Linked DNA regions of Homo sapiens: region 1 is linked to region 2. Evidence: promoter capture Hi-C in human tissues and cell types (Jung and others, 2019). All regions are on one chromosome and are shown on one strand. The core of a region is centred on a gene start or on the middle of the fragment in contact, and the rest is flanking DNA. Distances in the headings are between cores, read along the strand shown. Region 1 has its middle 64 kb from the start of TPM1. Region 2 holds the start of TPM1 (tropomyosin 1).

Evidence for each region. Contacts are between HindIII fragments. The study calls those that stand out against the background at their distance.
Region 1: a fragment that was not itself captured here is called in contact with the fragment with the promoter of TPM1 in region 2 in 4 of the 25 tissues and cell types used here (bladder, heart right ventricle, liver and 1 more).

Annotation. Positions count from the first base shown.
Region 1 is chr15:62,975,536-62,981,851 of GRCh38, forward strand. No RefSeq gene overlaps it. Among named protein-coding and RNA genes, the nearest start is that of TPM1, 64 kb to the right of the region's middle. The HindIII fragment of the contact is 9,871 bases long and covers 1-6,316 here.
Region 2 is chr15:63,037,135-63,043,996 of GRCh38, forward strand. TPM1 (tropomyosin 1) reads left to right here and starts at 5,613. Exons shown (of 10, transcript NM_001018005.2): 1 at 5,613-5,809. The coding sequence starts at 5,696. RefSeq lists enhancers at 4,557-5,471, 6,385-6,862. The HindIII fragment of the contact is 3,976 bases long and covers 2,700-6,675 here.

The DNA.
Region 1 (6,316 bases), core at 1,437-3,936, 65 kb before region 2:
CTTAGACCTCCCAAAGTGTTATTTGACAGCCATGAGCCACTGCACCTCACCGGCAATTATTTTCAAGGCTGAGATGAGCTCTCAGTTCACAAGCCATCTCCTCAGTGAAAACTCCTCTCACCACAGGCCTCTCCCTGGCAGACGGCCCCGCCCTTCTCCGCACTCCCTAGGCCTTTGTTCCTACCTCTGTACGACTGCCTCGTCTTCCTGGAGATGGCATTCTGTGATGGGTGAGAGCACTACAGGCAGACTCAGTGAGAGAACTCAGGCAGACTGCGTTCAACCCTCTATGACATCTTGGCCAAGCTATTTTATCTCTCTCTGTGCCTCGTTTTTCTAATCTGTAAATGAAGGATTATAAAATACCTACCTCATGGGGTCAAGTATTAGGCTGAGGTGAGTTATAAGGTAAATTTCTTGGAATGGTGCCTGGGGACACAGAAAGTGTCACCAAATATTAGCTTATTACTATGTGTATATAATATATATACATATTTATATGAATACATACATATGTAATCCTATGTATATACATATATGTATATATAGCATACATATAACATATATAAGTATATGGAATATATTTATATACTACATATTTATAATATGAATATGCACATAACATATTCATATATAAATTCATATTTAATATGTCATATATTCATATTATCATATTATATTACATATATATTACATGTATACATATAAGATGTATACATTATATATATTATATACATGTGTGTATATATAAATCTACACGTGTATGTAACATGACATCTCATACAAACAGATGCTTGGTGAATGTTTTATGAATGAGTGTACGACAGTAGATGAACTGGGAGAAATTCTTTGAGTATTTCAATGAATTGCTGGCAGCTTTGCTGGAGAGGCTGTGACCTTTCCTTTCTAATTAACAGGCTCATGGAGGTGGGGAGAGGGTTGGGGGCTGGGGAGTCAGCAGTAGACACTGAAGCCCTTTCTTAATTGTACCAGACACCTTGTCTCATGACAGCACAGAGGAAGAATTCAGAGAATCAGACCCCCTCTCCTGAACATTCAGGAGAAGAATTGCATCTGACACTCAATATAAATACACAACATAGCAGGGACTAGTCTCCTCCTCCCTATAGGAAATCACTTATTCCCATATTTTGTTTTTGCCCTTCTCTGCCTTTATAAGATGATAAATCACTAAAATGGAATGTGGCTTCAAAAAGCCAAAAGTGCATTATTTACATTTTTCAGCCAACTCAGCAGATCTTCACATCGTGGGAACTCCCAGTGCCTTGGAGACTTGGAAAAGTCCCAGGAGCCCCTTACCAACTATTCCCCCAGAGCTAAAGGCCTGGAAGCTATGGCCTCGTGCGTCATTCCTACCCCTCTCTGCTCAGATGCTGAGAGGGGTCTGGGGACTCTCTAAACGACCCGCTACAAGCAAAGAGCCCTGTTGGGAGCTCAAGAGACCTGGACTAAATTCTCATGCTGCCTCTTTCTGGTTGTAAGCAATTGGACAAGTTGCTTACCATTTATCCTGATGTGATTATTATGCATTGCATATCAAAATCTCTCATTACCCCATAAACATATACACCTACTATGTACCCACAAAAAATTTAAAAATTTAAAAAATTCTCTGAGCCCCCATGCCTATATCTGTGAGTGCAGGCACTGTCCCTAGCTCCTAGGACTGTTACGTGGGCTAAATGATACTTAGGCGTGGAGCACTTGTCACCTGCAGGGGGGAGGTGTATGGAGCTTTCTTTGGCCTACATGGGACTATAGGGTCCCTGGAAAGACGTTGGTGCCTGAGTCAGAGGCCTTCATGCTAATGCCAGCTCATTAATTCATTGTGGAGCTTGTGCACATCATTTGTGCTCTCTGCCTTAGTTTCCTCCCTGCAACATAGGGGCAAAAATAGTTGTCCATGCCAGGCATGATGGCTCACACCTGTGATTCCAGTACTTTGGGAGGCCAAGGCGAGAGGATCATTTGAGGCTTGGAGTTTGAGACCAGCCTGGCAAAATAGCAAGACTTCGTTCCTACGAAAAAAAAAAAATGTAGCTCCACATGGTGGTATATGGCTGTAGACCTAGTTACTTAGGAGGCTGAAGCAGAAGAATCGCTTGAGTCAGGAGTTTGAGGTTACAGGGAGCTATGATCGTACCACTGCGCTCCAGCATTGGTGACAGACTGAGATCCTATCTCTAAAAATAATAATAATAATTGTCCAACTTACTTCCCAAAGTTACAAGATTAAAAAGTTAATTAACATCCCTTGTAAGTTTTTTTTTAAGTAAAAACTGTTTAATTCATTTTTTCTAAAGTAGCAAAAAACTAGAATTTCTTTGAATTAAGTAAGGTTTGTACTGTGGCCTTTGATTAATCATAGTAGATTGCCTTTTAAGCCATGAGAGCCACACTCTGAGAAAAGGCTTAAATGGCTTTAATTCCACTATAGTGTGCATGACTGATATCAAATCCTTTACTGAAACAAATTCTGATGGAGCAGAGGAGGGAGTAAGCACGGGGCATCTGTGGGCTCAAAATGAGCTCCACAGAGGGGCACCTGAGGGCACCAGAAACACACTTTGCCAACTCGCCCACAGCCTTTGGGCAGGTCTGGACACACAATTGTTTTAATGTCTGTGTCATGTTGTCCTCTCCCAAGTCTAGCTGACCCCATCCTTTATAAATGGAGAGGCAAGAGCTGGTTATGATAAGATATCTGGTTTCAGAAACAAGTGCTTTTGTTCCAAGTATTCCAGCAACAGCAACCTGGTGTCCCTGGCCTACCCAAATCCAGGACAAGTGTTCCTGCCAGTCTGCAGCCATCCATCTCTCCAGGCTTATCTACGAGTCATCATGGAAGTTAAAGAGCTGCTGGTGGCCATGGTAGCCTGCCTGGTCGCATGACCTCAATCCTCTCTCTGAACCAGCAAAGCTCCCTGACCCACGAGTCTCACAAAAACAATTCCTGTCTCTTGTCATCAGGTTCAGATGATGAGCTCAAACAATGCCCCAGGATGAGCCAGGAATGTCTTTGCCTGACTTGGCAAGTGGTTTCCCTGCCCTGCAGTGGCCAGAATGTGGGAGTGGAAAATTATTCTTGTTTCCTTCCGGAAATGACCACATTCGCCAGGGCCAGGCGCAAATCCACTGACTGCCCTGAAGGGAGATTTGCCTCCTCTTCAGAGGACAGAGGGAGACTTGGCCAAGCTTGCTTGGGAAATCAAAGTGTCTCCCAGCTGCCATGTTCTAACCCTAGGCCACACAATGAAACCAAAAGGGCCCCATTGAATGAGAATGGGTCTCACTCGTGAAGCCACTTCACTTCTACACACAAGACCATTCCTTGGATATTCCAGACACCCCCAAGTCTCTGCCACTATTGCTGTTGTTGACACACTCCTCAACTGGTGCTCACAGAGCGGGAAGGGGTCCAGGAGAGGAACCCCGCTCTTATCCTCCAGGTCCACTGCTCCAGGGCATGAGGAGGGGAGAAGGGAAGGGAGATAGCACTGTCCTGTCATACTGACCCCAGAGAAATGTGAAACACTTTTTCTCATTCCTTCTCTGTAGAGGTGAAACATACCAAACCTTCCACAGGGTTTTTATTAAACTCTACGAGTAGAATGAAAGAACAAGGAAAGGAGCAGAATTAGTATTTATTCAACAAATACTTACTGAACCAGCATTATGTGCCAGGCACTGTGCTGGCCATGGGGCAGATGTGAAAGAGCTAACCCCTGACTTTAGGGGGTTTGATAAACCCAGGTGCTAAATGAATGGTCCAATGGTTCCCAGGGAGCACACCCACTCCACCCCTTCCCACCACTTTATCTCAACCCCAGTCATTTCACAATTAAAAAAACAAAATGAAAGTCTAACACAATTTGTTCTCCCATGTGAGCTAGGAAGACCCAAACTCCCACAGGCTAAAAGTTTATGATAACAGGCAAGATTAATTAGTAGTTGTCATGAAAATGGAATGTCATTAATTATGCAGTTTGAAACTGTTCAAGTTCACTTCCTCCAAAATTAAATCCTAAAACTATAGCATCTGAAAACCTCCACATATGCTTGACTCATACTTGAGTCGTACACAACACTCACATACTAAATATTATCTACAAAACAGGTAGCGTTATCAATTTGAGTGTGTGTGATGTGGTAGGAGTGGTTGTGCTCCTCACACAGAAGGATGCCGGAGCACATGACTTCTTGTTTAAATCGAACACACAATTGGTACCTCTATTTTTAAATGCTGTTATAGCCAGACCGTTGTCTAGTGGATGACGCTCCCATGGGCCCCACAACACATGTAGGGTGCCCACAACAGTTAATTGTTGCATAACAAATCACCCCAAAACGTAGCAGCTTCCATACTAATCATTGGAAATTTCTCCTGATTTCTGTGGGGCAGGGATTTAGAGAGGCTCAGCTGGAGGTGCTGGCTCAGGGTCCCTCCTGAAGTGCTGTCAAGGGTCTGCTGGGGCTGCATGTAAGTGCTTGCTGGGATTAGAGGCTCCACTCTGAGATGGCTCACTCACAGGAATGGCAAGTGGGTGCTGACTGTTGGCCAGAGGCCTCCGTTTCTCTCCGTATGAGTCTTTCTACAGGGCTTCTTGAGTGTCTTTATGGTATGGTACTGGCTTTCTCCAGAGTGAGCAATGCAGGAGACTGAGGCTGAAATGGCAATGCCCTTTACGACCTAGCCTTGGTCCTAATTGTCACTTCTATCATACTCTGTTGGTCACACAGACATCCTTGATTCAATGTGGCGAGGGCTTTCATACAAAGCCTTGAAAGCCAGGAGCTGTGGCTCACTGGGGCCATCTTGGATGCTGGGCACCACTGGTATTCATCACCACGATGCTTCGGGCAAACCTCCCTGCCGTCCAATGTAGGCAGGCAGAGGAATGCTTCCATTTATCAAATCTCTGCATACTTGTGTGATGTTACATGTAAATGGACATATTTTAAAGAATTTTGTAGCAATAAAACAGACAATACCAAAACTCCAACAAACATCATTCAGCCTGTTTTTGAACATTCAGGAACCTCTGGACTACACTACCCACAGGTTACCGCTGTTACCATGTAGGCATATGGCCTTCCAGGTTTTTTCTACGTCCTTTCCACTGCCTCCACCTGAAGCATTTAAAGATGTTTCTGTCCTTCCCATTCTGGCCCATCTTAAGTCTTTCCTTATCCTCTGTTCTCCTTCAGCTGTTGTCGTATTTCTTTTATGTCCTTCACAGCCTAACTTCTGAAATGATGTGGCTAGACTCACCTCCCACTTGCTCCTCAAGCCACTGGATCTGGCTTCGGTCCTCACTATACCATGGAAATTGTCCTTGCCACAGTCATCAAAGGCCTTCTAGTTGCTCCACCCAATAGACGCCGTGATTTCCACTTTTTACCTGACCTCTTAGCACCATCTGAGGGTGCTGACCACAATCTTCCTTCCCTGGCATTTTTTTTTGCTTTTCTGATTACTCCTTCCTGGTCTCCATTCTGGGCTCCAATTCTTCCCCCCACTTAAATGCTAGGGTTCCTCCAGCCTCATCCTAGCTCCATTTCCCACCCTACTCGTGTTGCCAGCAGTGTTGTCCATCCCACACCTTCCTTTATCAGCTAGAAGCTGGTGCTTTGTAAATCTATGTGTCTAGCTCAGGTCACTCTCTTGAGCTTCAGACCCACACAGCCGGCTATTTGGCAAATGCCTTTAGTCAGATGCCAAACTCAAACTGTTGAAAGCCAGATTGATCATTTCCCCTGACACACTGGCTTCTTTATCTTCTCCTACCTCAGGAAATGGCACCTTCATCTACTCAGTTGCTCAAGCCAGAAACCCAGGCATAAATTATCCTTGACTCCTCCCTCTCCTTTGTCTCTCACTCCATCAGTTACCGTGTCCTGTAGATTCTACCTCTGATGTATCTCTGGGATCCATCCACCTCTCTCCATTCCTACTCTCAGTTCTCTGGTACTATTCACTATCATAGCCTCGACAACCTCTGAACTGACCTCCCTTTCTCCAGTCTTACCCCACAATTTGCTTAACCACTCTTGTATCATGGGATGTTTAGGGGGTTTGTACATGATTATACTTTTTAAAAAAATGTCTGGCTACTTGTGTTCTTTTTTTGCTTGGATTTGGATTTCATGATATTCATATATTTGACTCTAGGGTAGGCTTTACCAATAAAGAATCACAAATAATTATCCGATTCCCTTCTATAGAGACGAAATCTCCAGCTAGGTGTTCTAGATTCTAGAGGTTGTCATTCCTCAACCTGCCAATTGAAGCCCT
Region 2 (6,862 bases), core at 4,363-6,862:
TAATCCCAGCTACTCGGGAGGCTGAGGCAGGAGAATCGCTTGAACCCGGGAGGTGGAGGTTGCAGTGAGCGGAGATAGTGCCACTGCACTCCCGCCTAGGCAACAGAGCAAGACGCCGTCTCAAAAATAATAATAATAAAAATAACATAAAATAAATATGAAATCAAACTGAACCTAAAAACAGGCTGGGAATGAATGAATGAAAAGGGCATTGTTACTGAGAGTTCAGATATCTGCATTTTTGTTCCTGCACTGCCACCTCCCAGCTGAGTGGTCTTGAACCAGTTACTGCCCTTGGTGTGTGTGGTTTTGTTTTGGTTTAGGTTTTTTTTCTTTTCAAGACAGGATCTCATTCTGTCACCCAGGCTAGAGTACAGTGGCACACTCACTGCAACCTCAAACTCCTGGGTTCAAGCGATCCTCCTGCCTCAGGCTGCCGAGTAGCTGGGACCGCAGGTGTGAATTACCATGCCCCGCTAATTTTTAAAGTTTTTTGGAGAGATGGGGGGAAGCTCTACAAATTTGCCCAGGCTGGTTTTGACCTCCTGGCTTCAAGTGATCCTCCTGCTTTGGCCTCCCAAAGTGCTGGGATTACAAGCATGAGCCACTGTGCTCGGCCTGGTTTTCTCATGTACAGAGTGAAAATCAGAGAACTCATCCTGATGCTGTCATAAGAGGTTGGGAGGAGGAGGTAATGAACTTGAAAGTGCTTTATAAACTATACAAACATGAAGGAATATCGCCTTTCTTAAGACAGCTAAATCTGCCACACTTGGAGCTTGATTAAATCTACACTGAGTTGCTACTGTTGAGAGACAGACAATAAGAGGTAAGGCAGGAAAACTCCTATGCCTTTTTTTTTTTGTACTGGGACAATCATTTTGCCCATGCAAACATTCCAGGTAATAAGCGTGCTCAAGGGCCTCTCCAAAGAATCAGGACCAGCTGTGTGTTACTAAACAATAAAGGCAGGCACGCCTTGAAAATGGCCTAAAGACCTTTCTCAGAGATCCAAACCAGCCCCACCCCCCGCCCCCAGGAAGCATAGCATATTTTCTGTGAGGCCTTGATGGTAGCATCACAAACCCTTGGGAAACACAACTCCCAGTGTTTGAGGAGAGCATGCCGTATCTTGTTCCAGGGACACTGAGTCGTGAGCATAAAACGCTGCATTCCAAAAGAGACGAAGAAGCAGTCGTCTCTCCATTTAATTATAGATTCTTCACTTTCCCTTAATTGCTTCAGTCAGCACTGTTGACTCTGGGGGAGTCACAGTACACCGGCAGGGCTATTGCTGTTAAACAAGGGGTGACTATCAGGTAATGAGGTTTTCATTTTGTTTTTTCAAACAAACAAACCCTGATGTACATATTCAAGTGGGCATTCCTGTTAAAGGTGTCACATTGGGAAATGATGCTCATGTTGACTCTCCTTTGTAACCAAATATTGATAAATGTAGTATGACACATACAAGTGTTTTATGGAAGGAAAAAGGCAGCATATTTAATATTAAAGCTTTCCTAGAAAACCCGAGATATGTGATCCTCATAACTATAGAGGGCCCCAGGTGACCAACTGAGCTGATGGTCATGCCATGGGAAATACATATTAAATGACTCCCAAAGAGAGGGTTCTCCCTGCATCATACATAGACACTTTTCCTACAGAAAAAGATCCATGTCTTTTGTCTGCTTCCCTGGATCCCATAAGCCCTAAATGTCTTGCACACAAAAGGTGTCCAATAAATATTTGGAGACATTTGTCTTACCCTATCACAATACTTATATTCATTCTTCATGAAATAAGACACAGAGCCCATATTTTGAATGGAAACAAGATCTTTTGAACCTAGATTTGTTACTTTACCTTCCCAGACTTTCTTGTAAGTCAGTAAGAAAGCTGGACTTGTCAGTCATAAAAAAAATTGTTCAACAAACATTCATTGAGAAATGACTGAATACCAGGCACTGGAGAAATCTGGAAATTCCAAGCATGTTCGTGGTGATCACGTAGAGCCTCTAGGCCAAGAATGTTGAATGTTGTGCAGGCTGTCATGCCACCATGATTTGGTAAGCTTTTTACTTTCAAGGAATATAGACTCGCTTATGTAACCTCAAGAAATACAGGGGGTTATTATAAGGACCCCTGGAACTGAAATTTGGTCATATTCTCCCAATCTCTTTCTCTAAATGGTGCTTCTGTTTATCTTGATATGCCTGCTTCATTCTTTCTCTATAATCACTTCTCTGCTTTTTCATAACTTAGCTGATGCATGCCTATTGTGCTGTATTAGTCAGGAGAAGCTAGTTATGCTTCAGTAACAAACAACCCCCAATCTCAGTGGCCTAAAATAACAAAGATTTATATCTTATTCTCACTACATGTCCACCAAGGGTTAGTTGGGGGGAAAGAGGGAGCCACTTGAAAACCCACAATGACAGAGCAGCCACAGTCTTGAAAAATGAACATGGTTAGTCGTGAGCTCTTTAAGTATCCACCAGAAGTCATTTCTGCTCACGTTTCCTTGGCCAAAGCAAGTCAAATGGCCACAGCCAACTTAATTGGGTGGGATGTACAATGCTACCACGACATTGACTGGGGAGAAAACCTAAAAAATTGTGAATAACCTTAATCACTTTTACACGTGGCATTTCCAGCCCGACACTGCAATCCCTTTTTGTTTCAGCAGCCACGGCTAGTGATTCCCATTTTTCACGTTCCTTAATTCAAACTGCAATGAAAGAAGCTGAGTGGCCCAGTTCATCATTGCCTGACAAGCCACAACGCCAAGTCCCTGGTTAGTATTTAGATCCATCCTTGAGTTGTGGCCAATCAGCCAGAGAACAGGGATACACACTACATACAGCCTGTGACTGTCCAGCCTACCTCTGGAGAGGACCAGGAGACCTGTTCACTACAGAAGAATGTGTTATTTAAGTCATGACGTTTTGCTTGTCCTAGCTTTGTCTTAGCCCTTGGTGACAAAAAGGTCATGGGTGGTATAGCCCATGAAGCTGACTTGGGCCTGACACATGGCAGAATCTCAACATGGGTTAAAAGAAATGATTGAATTCAGGACCTGCTATGTTAACCCATCAGTCTAGAGATCAATGATGTGGTACTAAGGGATTTTAAAAGTTAGCGTTGTATAGCTCCATTTCCATACTTTGACACCATAGGCTTCGACCTCTGAATATAGGCCCTAGGTGAGGGAGTCTGGGAGAGGAAGAGGTGAAAAGAAGAGACATCGATGGCTTTAAACTACACAATAAGGTCTGAATGTCTGAATCTGGAATTCAAGGCCCTTTATCATACAGCCCCAAGCTTCCTTTCCAGTCTCATGCCCCCATTCACCCCCAAAATCCTACTGTCCAACCACCACCAAACATTCCTTTTTCTTTCCTTGGCGCATACAACGGCCCTCCTCTCTAGCTAACTGCTACCCTTCCTTTAAAATCAGTTTAAAAGCCATCACCTTTTCAGAGAATTTTTTCCCATCTGCTCTGACCTAGTCATTTCTATTTCTTCCTCGTGTGAATTCTTAACACCTTTCTCATGCCAAACACCTGGAGGACATAGACCTGTGCTACTCATTCTTTGGATTCCAGAGCCTAGTACCTGCCTAGTATATAGCAGGTACTCAACAACCGTGTGTTTAATAAATTGCTTGTAGCATGATTTCATTTAAGGAAACTTTAATGAGTCCCTCGGCTACATATGGCACAGTAAGAAAAGAAAAGTCAGTAACATGTGGTCCCGCAAGGAGTTTCTCTAGTTCAGTTGCCTCTTTTTATAAGTGAGAAAAAAGGCTTAGAGAGATTGTAACATGGCTAAGGTCACACTGCAAGGAAGTGACCAGGCCAGGTCTGGATCCCTGGAACTGACTCCTAACTCCCTATTCTTGCCTCCTCTGCTGAGCTCCAACCTGGGGAGTCAGCTCCCTGGAGTCCACGCATCTGGATATCGTCCACATGCCTGGAACTTTGTCACTGTTCCGGTGGCTGGGTTGACACACCGTGATTAAAGGGCTCTGGTCAATTTCTGTGCCACGCAGCCCCTATGCTAATGGTCAGATCTAATGTTCTGACCATTAGGTCAGTGTATCTTTTCCCTCCTGGGCAGTTAGGTTAGTGGAAGAAACCCGATAAAATCTTGGAGAGGAATTTGATCATTCTCTGAAGGACTTACAAGTTGTTTGGCCTGCCTAATCTGCTCAGATACCGTCCGGGGAATATTTGGTAACCATGCAGTACAGACTGTGAATTATTCTGTGGGGACTATTAACAAGACCCTCACCAACCCTGCCTCAGCTGATCTCAGGGCTTGGGGGCAGCCCCCTCTCCTCCCCTCCCACTGAAGCTCTGAAAAAAAGCAGCCTTTCCCCCTTGGGAGATGGGAGGAGTAGTTAAAAATAAGAAGTGTTGGGGGAAATCCTCCTCCTTCCAAGCACAGCTCACACGGCAGAGCCTCCTCAGAGTTGCGGCTGCGGATGCAATGACTTAGCCAGGTTAACGCCGATCCCATGTTTTCCGAAACCTGGCACCTAAGCATCTAACATGGAAGGCCGACTCCCTAAAATCAGTGCAAGAAAAATGATAACAAGTTATATCTGGAGGGACCTCGGGGATTATCTACCCGCTGGATTTAAAGTTGAGGAAGCCGCGGGCAGCAAACAAGGTCTCACAGTTGCTGGTGGCAGAGTAGAGACCACAGACCAAATTGCCTGAGTCTAAACTCAATGTTCTTTCCCCTTAGACTGCCACCCGCACACACACGCACACATGCACACCTTTTTGGAGGCACTGCACAGCAAGCACAGAAGTACGCCACTGAGTCCTGTGTCCCTAAAGTATTTGACTGTCCCTCCGCTGGGGGAAAGGGCAGGCAGAAAACAAGACTCCGTGTGCTGTCGCTGTGCCGCCCCCTGCCTCTCTGACCCGCGCCCGCAGAGAAAGTCTCAAGAGCCGCCCCAGGCTTTCTCCCACGTTCTCCCTTTCTCTGCTGCAGTTGAGTTTCCAGAGCGTGAGCGCGCAGGATGACACCTGGCTGGCTGAGAGCTGCCGGGGAGGCGCTGGCGGGTGCCGAGAGCGCACTGACCCTGACGCGGGGTGCAGCACGGCTGGGAAGCCCCCGGGCCTTTGGCTAAGCGCGCCGGGGGACGGCACAGGGGGGCGACGCGCATCCACCACCTGGTCCGCGCTCTCCCGGCCTCCGGCAGCTCAGGGCGGGCTCGGTTGGGGACCCTAATGGCTGGGTGCCGGCCCTGGGAGAAGGGCACGCGGAGGGCGGAGGGTTGCGCCTCGGCCCCGGCTCGGCCCCAACGCCCTCTCCCTGGCGCGCAGGTTTAGAAACAGGGCGGCCTCTCCGGCCGCCGCCTCGGCGGCTCGGGTCCCCATATATAGTCATATCCACCGTCAACTGGGAGGCCGGCGGCCGGCAGCGAATGGGCGAGCGGCCCCCGCGGGAGGAGCGGGGAGGGGGCACGGGGCGGAGGGAGGAGAGGAGGAAGGGGGGCAGGAGAAAAAAGCTTTTCCAAAAAAGTATTGGCTGTCTTGAGGAATGCGGTCGCCCCCTTGGGAAAGTACATATCTGGGAGAAGCAGGCGGCTCCGCGCTCGCACTCCCGCTCCTCCGCCCGACCGCGCGCTCGCCCCGCCGCTCCTGCTGCAGCCCCAGGGCCCCTCGCCGCCGCCACCATGGACGCCATCAAGAAGAAGATGCAGATGCTGAAGCTCGACAAGGAGAACGCCTTGGATCGAGCTGAGCAGGCGGAGGCCGACAAGAAGGCGGCGGAAGACAGGAGCAAGCAGGTCTGCGCCTCCCCGGCCCTGCGCCCGCGCCCAGAGCGCCGGGACTCGAGCCTGGCACCCCCGGCTGGATCCCCACCCCGAGGACTCGGGGAGCCACCACCCTACCCCCACCACCACCCAGGGCGGCCAGGGCGCGCGTCTGGAAAGAAGGAAGGGAAACGCAAGAGCCAGGCTTAGTCTAACTTAGTCTGGTCTGAGGACGCTTATTTCCCTTCTCTGGTTCCCATGGCCCGCGAAATCAAGTCCTAGAGGCGCTTTATTCTCAGGACTGGGAATCAGTTTGGGGGAGGGAGGAGGACACCCGGTTCCTGGGGACGTTTGAAGGAAGGGCGAGGGATGGAGAAAGGGGGTCGAGTAACTCAAGTGTTAGAAGTTCGTTGACTTTTGACTGGGGAGAAAGGAACCTTAAACTTGGGGAGGAGAAGGGAGTCCTGGAGTTGTTACCTAAGAACAAAGATGGGGCGGAATGGAGGCTACAGCCCGAAAGCCAGGCCAGCAGTGGCGTTCTTCTGTGTCCCCAAGTAGTGGACTTGAGCCCGCTGAGACCTCGGCAGGAGTCTCGTCCCAGGGCAGGTGGGTGTGCGGGGTGAGCCGCGGAGCGGTTCCAGCTCGGGTAAAGAGGAAGTTACCTCGGGTCCTTTGCACTCCAACTCGGCGGCGCCCCGAGCCCGAGGGGCCCCAGCCAACCCGACGCCCGTGTGTTGTGTGTGTCTAACACCCGGTCCGTGCCGGCCGCCCGCGCCCGCCCGCCGCTGCCCCCAGCTCGAGGAGGACATCGCGGCCAAGGAGAAGTTGCTGCGGGTGTCGGAGGACGAGCGGGACCGGGTGCTGGAGGAGCTGCACAAGGCGGAGGACAGCCTCCTGGCCGCCGAAGAGGCCGCCGCCAAGGTACCCGGGGCGCGCGGCACGGCGTGGCGCACGAATGGCTAACTCTTTCTCTTTCTCTCTCTCCCTCCCTGTCTTTCCCTCTGTCTCTCCCGCTGTCCCTGTCCTTCTGGTTCTGTGCACCCACACCCCTCCCCTTCGGGATCACGCTGCCTGCTGCACCCCCCT